2 separate regions of the Homo sapiens genome follow, and region 1 is linked to region 2. The links are contacts of gene promoters, found by promoter capture Hi-C in blood cells and fetal thymus (Javierre and others, 2016). All regions are on one chromosome and are shown on one strand. The core of a region is centred on a gene start or on the middle of the fragment in contact, and the rest is flanking DNA. Distances in the headings are between cores, read along the strand shown.

The links. The method cuts DNA at HindIII sites, captures the fragments that hold promoters and counts their contacts. A CHiCAGO score of 5 or more calls a contact.
Region 1: a contact is called between the fragment with the promoter of AOPEP here and the fragment with the promoter of TSTD2 in region 2, in 1 of 17 cell types (naive CD4 T cells). The highest score is 5.7, in naive CD4 T cells.

The regions. Positions count from the first base shown.
Region 1 is chr9:94,725,211-94,728,514 of GRCh38, reverse strand. AOPEP (aminopeptidase O (putative)) reads right to left here and starts at 1,816. Exons shown (of 17, transcript NM_001193329.3): 1 at 1,764-1,816. RefSeq lists enhancers at 1,545-2,024, 1,547-2,089, 2,035-2,204. The HindIII fragment of the contact is 1,744 bases long and covers 311-2,054 here.
Region 2 is chr9:97,631,800-97,634,986 of GRCh38, reverse strand. TSTD2 (thiosulfate sulfurtransferase like domain containing 2) reads left to right here and starts at 1,619. Exons shown (of 10, transcript NM_139246.5): 1 at 1,619-1,744. It overlaps NCBP1 (nuclear cap binding protein subunit 1), which reads right to left and starts at 1,166. Exons shown (of 23, transcript NM_002486.5): 1 at 1,072-1,166. The coding sequence starts at 1,105. RefSeq lists enhancers at 669-748, 306-1,141, 1,306-1,600, 1,369-1,698. The HindIII fragment of the contact is 4,009 bases long and covers 1-2,710 here.

The DNA.
Region 1 (3,304 bases), core at 567-3,066, 2.9 Mb after region 2:
AACTGTCCTCGACCGGGCACAGTGAGGTCAAAAATCTACTCGGCATCCTGAGTGTTTAAGAAGGCAAGAAATTGTGTAGTACATTTTTAAAATTTCCATCTCAAAGAGTCAATAAAATTTTCATTTCTAAAGAAGTATTAAGCTCTCAACTGTAAAATTACCCATTCCCTGAGGACTCCAAACAGCAGGGTTTTACTGCACAATCTTGTTTGCCATTTATCTCATTCTTAAAAATAAGGATGGTGTGTGTGTGTGTGTGTGTGTGTGTGTGTGTGCATGCGCGCACGCAGGAAGGATCACAAATTAAGCTTTCCAGGTGTTTTAACTCCAGGAATATGGGAACTTAACACAGTATTAAAGATATTAAAAAGTGTTAAATCATTTGTGTAGGTGAACAAACTCATAAAATTGTGTGCAACTATTGTAAAAAGCCTAAAATTTGAGCATTAGTAGAGTCCTTTAAGAAAAGTGCAGGCTTTGAAGTTATATTCAGACCTGAATTTAAATCTTGATTTTGCCATTTAGTTAACTGTGAATTTTTAGCAAGTCAATTTCATATAACCGAAACTCAATTTCCTTCTCTATAAATTGGGGGTAATAATTCCTAACTCACGAGGTGGTTGTATGAAGTAAGGAGAAAACATATGCAAAGTGTTGAACACAGTACCTGGGATAAAGCAGATGGGCCAACAGTAAGCAACTATTATTATACCCTAACCTTATTCTACTTTGTCCCCCAAATATTGGAAGAATCTAATCTTCCCAATTAGCAAGTCATTGGAAGGCTTCCCAGACTTATACGAAGCACAATATACACTATTCAAAAATGGAACAGACTAAAAGTATTTTAAAAATACAAAACCAAACAATCAATGAGATCAAGGATTTCAGAATTCTGCTTCTCGTCCCATATACTCAGCATCTATTCTGTCTGGTTTTGTAATAACCCATATTATTTCTTTATCAACCATATGAACCTTATTGTTGTTTTTTTGCGATCTAAACATCCCTAGCGGGTTATGTTACTTATTTTGAGGGCTACCTTTGCAAGGGTAATTGTCATCATTGCACGAAAACCAAAAAGAAATCAGGTACAAGGGGCATTTTATGCAATGCTATTAACTGTTCCATGCATCTCAACAGTGGATTGGATCCTAAGTGGATATTTTATTATCACAATAGATAATCATAATCACATTACTGTGCCACCCCCTCCCCGCCCATGCATGCGTTCATGAACAAAACTCCAGACTAACAGTATGAATGTTCTATAGGGACCCCAAAACTCAAAATGTGGTGCTCTCAGTAAAGATCCTCCGGGGGAAGAAGAGGCGGATGGGTTTCACTGCAAGTGGAAATGAATCGAATCGAAACTGTTCTGCCTACTTAAGACTGGAGATGAGCCCTGTGGGGCTAGAAGCCGAGACCGGCAGGTGACCGAGGGCCTGGAGGCAAGAGACGAAGGAGGAGGCACCCAGAGGCTGAGAAAGGTCTGTGCCGCCGGGGAGAAGACAGCCAGAGCCCGTGGCCACCTCTACAGCTGAGGTGGTAAGATGTGACCGCTCCGCCCAGTCCCCAGGATGGGTTTCAGCCCCAGGAGTCTGGGAGAACTGAGGAGGGGATGCGGGTCCTCGCTGGTCGAGCAAAAGTGAGGGTAAGGGAGGGTTCCCCGTCGCCTTCAGAACGGAATGATGCTGTCCCCGCCGCCATCCCGACGCCGGAGGAGAGGAAGGCAGGGACCCAACAGGGAGCGAACAGGTTACCTGTCTCAGCCGCGTCCCACGGGTCACCACTTCCGCAGACTCGGGGTTACTACGGGCTACCCCGGCACGCGCCGGGTGACGTCATCCACACGCGCCCGGGGCCGCATTCTGCCTGACCCGCCTTCCGCTAGGCCCGCCCCCTTAGGATGAGAGGGCGAGACCGCCCGGGGGAGATCTGCGCAGGCGCGGAGCTGCCGCGGTCATAGGAGGGCGCGAGCAGCTTGGCTGGCTAGGGCTTGTAGAGTTGCCCTGGTACCCTAGTATTCCTAATTGCAAAATCTTTATGAAGCTTAAGAAAAAAATCACCAGCCTGGGCAACCTGGGGAGGCCCCGTCTCTACAAAAAAATTAAAAAATTAGCCGAGTGTGGTGGCGTGCACCTGTGGTCCAGCTACTATGGAGGCTGAGGCAGGAGGATTGCTTAGGTCCAGGAGTTCGAGGCTGCAATGAGCTATGAACGTGCCACTACACTCCACCCTGAGCCACAGAGCAAGACCCTGTTTCAAATAAAATTTAAAAAAAGTTACTGAAATACAGATGTGCAATTTTATTCCTTAGCCTAGTCTCACCTCTGCTGCATGTGACTATTGTTCACATATTAATTCCACCACAATTTAAGGTCCTCCTGTGTGCCAGGCAAGCACCCTTAACAAAAGCTGGGGAAACAACCAGGAACAAGACAGACGCTGTGCCTTCCCTCATGGGGATTACTTTCTAGTTGAGAAAGCAAACATTAAATGTAGAAGGAAAGGCCGGGCGCGGTGGCTCACGCTTGTAATCCCAGCACTTTGGGAGGCCGAGGCAGGCGGATCACAAAGTCAGGAGATCGAGACCATCCTGGCTAACACGGTGAAACCCCGTCTCTACTAAAAATACAAAAAATTAGCCGGGCGAGGTGGTGGGCGCCTGTAGTCCCAGCTACTCGGGAGGCTGAGGCAGGAGAATGGCGGGAACCCCGGGGGGCGGAGCCTGCAGTGAGCCGAGATCGCGCCACTGCACTCCAACCTGGGCGACAGCGAGACTCCATCTCAAAAAAAAAAAAAAAAGTAGAAGGAAAATAAGTTGCTGAGAAATTAAAGGAAGACAGGTGACCTTTTGATTTGAGATGTCAAGAAAGTGCCCTCTGAAGAGGTTCAGTAAACTGAGAAGCAGCCAACTCTGTGGAGAGCTAAGGAAAGAACAGCCAAGAGAAGAATCTACATGTGAGCAAGCAATAGGGAAGGGGCAGAATGTGGTGCCTTGGAGAAAGTGAGAAAGTAGGTCATGGGAAGAACAGAGGATGAGATCAAGAAGGCAAGGAGAGTCCCCATCATGCACAGACTCTCTGGGTTCCTGTGAGGAATACGAGTTTATTCGAAGTGTAAGGGGAAACTAGTGAAGAGTTATCAACACGTAAGTGACAGGATCTAGTTTTATAACATCACCCTGCTAGCTGCTGTGTATACATGAAACTTTTGAGAAACAATTTAAAAGGATGCAAAGAGAAGAGTTGCTTTTGCAATGAGCAGGTAAGAAATGATAGAAATGGACAAATTTCAGGAA
Region 2 (3,187 bases), core at 370-2,869:
GCAAATGATAAAACATCATTGTTGCTGATGTGTATTACCTCATTTAACCTTCACAAAAACCAGAAGATATAAATATCATTACTTCTGTATTACAGACTAAAGTTTAAGGAGATTTCATAACCTGGACAAGATCACCAAGTAAATGGTAGGGTCTGGCTTTGAACCTAAACCCTCTGGTTCCAAAGTCTCATCTCTTAACCACTACTATACACTCTCTTCAAAAAACAATACACTAAAATGTTAACAATAGAATTACTCTAAGTTTTACTTTTTTGGTGTGTGGATTTGTGTTTTTGACCGATTGTAAGGCTTATGTGTAATATAAGCATCTTTTTTTTGTTGTTGTTAAAACTAGAATTATTCCATCTTTATGAAGGCAACACTGATCTCCACGAGCACAATCATCCAAACGGAGATGGGAACCCCTGTTCTAACTCTCTCAGAGGCCTGAAGTTAGTTTTCTAGCACTCTCTCTCACACAAGGGAAATGCGCTTACGGCCAGTTCAAAATCTGCAGTAACCTGTGTCTGTTTATTAGGGACCTCTTGGGCGCAGGTAAGACAATATTCTTTCCCTGCAGCTTGAAAGAAGTGAAATCAACGGATAACCACTACCGGAACAGAGTTCAGACTGCAACTCATGAGATCTCTCAGTCCTTTCCTTCAGTGAATTCTTCCGAGCCCTTTTCAGGTGCAGCTTTGAAGGTTAAAACGAGACACTAGGACCAGTGGGTCCCTAAGAGGCGGCAGCACAGACACAGGTGTGCTTCCCTGCTCCGTGGTTTTACGGACGAAATTCTGAAGCATCCTTAGAGACCAAGGGTCTACCCATGGGGTTCACCAGGCCTTCTTTCCCGAGGATCGGCCCTTGACTCAAAGAACTGGGGCGGGGGAGAAGTCGCTTTCTAGAAGCCGCCCGACCACACCGCCACCATATTCTCCTCTTTCCCTCCGCGGCTCCCCGCACGTTCCCGGGGAGAAGAGCTTCCAGTCTCTTCCGTGGACACCCAAAGACGCCGAGCCTCGGCTCCCAACCGGGAGCGGCCTCCGTGGCCGGGCCGCAGGCACTCACCGTCGTTCTCGTCGCTGTGCCGCCGCCGCGACATGCTGCCCTCCGGTGCGCCGCGGAACCGAGAGGCCAGGCGGTAAGCGCTGCAGGAACTGTCTGGCCGCTGGCCGACGCAAGGACAGCTGCAAGGCGCGCGGATGGGCCGGCACGCAGGCGCACTAGCTCGCCACGGCCCCGGAAGCGCAGGAGAGGCCGCCGGGTGGGGCTAGGCGCTGCGACAGCCGGCGTGAGGAAGCTCAGTGGGCTACGAACGTCTGGCACACATGCAACCGCCCCCTCGGGCTGCCTCCGCCTGCCGGCTACTTCTTTCTCCCGCCTTCCGCTCTATGTCCTTCCGGGGCCACGCAGAAAGTGCCGCCGCTTTGGCCACTCAGAGCCCCCGGGCCGCGGTCGTCGTACGCCTGAAGGCGGGTCGTGCCGGCGGCCGCTCTAGTCTCCGCCTCCGCTCAGGCCGGTCCTCCGGGGCTTCTCAATGGTTTCCCGGTGGCCTCTCAATGGTTTTCCCGGCGGCCCTTGCGCCGACGCCAGGAGACTTCCGGAGCTTGGTGACGTCACGAGCGAGCTTTTCTACCCAAATACGCGGCGGGGGAATAGGCTCGAGGGCGGTGAGCAGTGACAATTGCTAGGCGGAGACAGTGCAGGGAAGAGAGACCTTAGAAAGGATCAGGACTGGCGGGTATGTGCTCATCTACTCCCACTTTCCGGCTTTTGCCGCCTTGGGAAAAGTGGGAGGAGAGGTTGGGCCAAGCTCGGCATGCGGGGTGGGGCCTGGGCGGGAGGCGGTGCCGCACGTGCCGCCCCTTGGTATGGAAAGGCCGGCCCTGACGCGAGCGTGCGGCTCCGGGCTTGCCGGCTGGCCGTCATTTTCCTTAAGTTGTTTGCTTAGGAAGGAACAAATGATTGTTTTAGTAATCTGTTTTCAAGGGTTATTGGGTACCTATATGCCTGTGTGTGAGCGTCCCCTCCCCTGATGTCTTTATGAGCACCATACTGGCTTATCTGCTTTGTCCATGGCCATCTGAAATTTCACTCTCCCGGCCTAATTCTCCTTCGGTCTTACCCATTTCAGTAAATGACGTCATCCGTCGGCCGCTTAATCCAAAAATTTAGAGTCTTTCTTAGCTCTTTTCCCTCTTTTTACATAACAATTATCTGTAAACCCTGCCTGCTCTGCTTTCAACACAAATCCAGAATCAGATCGTGTTACTGCTTTGTTTAAAAGTCTCCTATGACGGCCGGGCGGGGTAGCTAACGCTTGTAATCCTAACACTTATGGGAGGCCGACGCGGGCGGATCCGCTTGAGCCTAGGAGTTCAAGACCCACCTGGGCAACAAGGCGAACACCGTCTTTACAGGAAAAAAAAAAAAATTAGCTGAGCCTAGTGTTTGGCGCCTGTAGTCCCAGTTACTCGAGGGGAGGGTTGGGGGCCGAGGTGGGAGGATCCCTTGAGCCCAGGAGGTCGAGAATGCAGTGAGCGGTGATCGCACACTGCACTCCAGCCTGGGCAACAAAGTGAGACCGTGTCAAAAAAAAAAAGTCTCCTACGACTTTCCATTGCACACTCCATGCCATGGCCTGTGGGGTTCTACTTCTCCTCACTGTACTCCAACCACTCTTTCTGTTCTTACAATAAGTCAAGCTTGTTCTTATTTTAGGAACTTATACTATTTCCTTTACCTGAAGGTCTCTGGTTCTAAATCTGCGTGGCTGGCTCTTGGTCACTTAGGTCTCAGCTCAAATGTCAGGTCCTTAGTGAGGCCTTCTTTGGTTACCCAATCACTGTTTTATTTCATTCAACGAATATTATATTTATTAGCATTTAGCACCTCCTAGGTGCCAGGCAGAGTTCTGAATGCTGAGGATGTAGAGGTGAACAAAGGAAAACCCCTGCTCTCTTGGCGCTGATATATTCTAACGACCCATTCAGGAATACCCACAAATAGTGCCATCATAGGTAGTGAGCAACGGGAGAGTGGTAGATGAGATCAGAGAGGTAGGGGGAAGGTGCTCTGTGAGGACTTTGGACATTATCCAAGTGAATTGAGAAGTCATTGGAGTATGATTTTTTTTTTTTGAGACAGGGTCTCGCTCTGTTGCCCAGGCTGGAGTGCAGTGGCA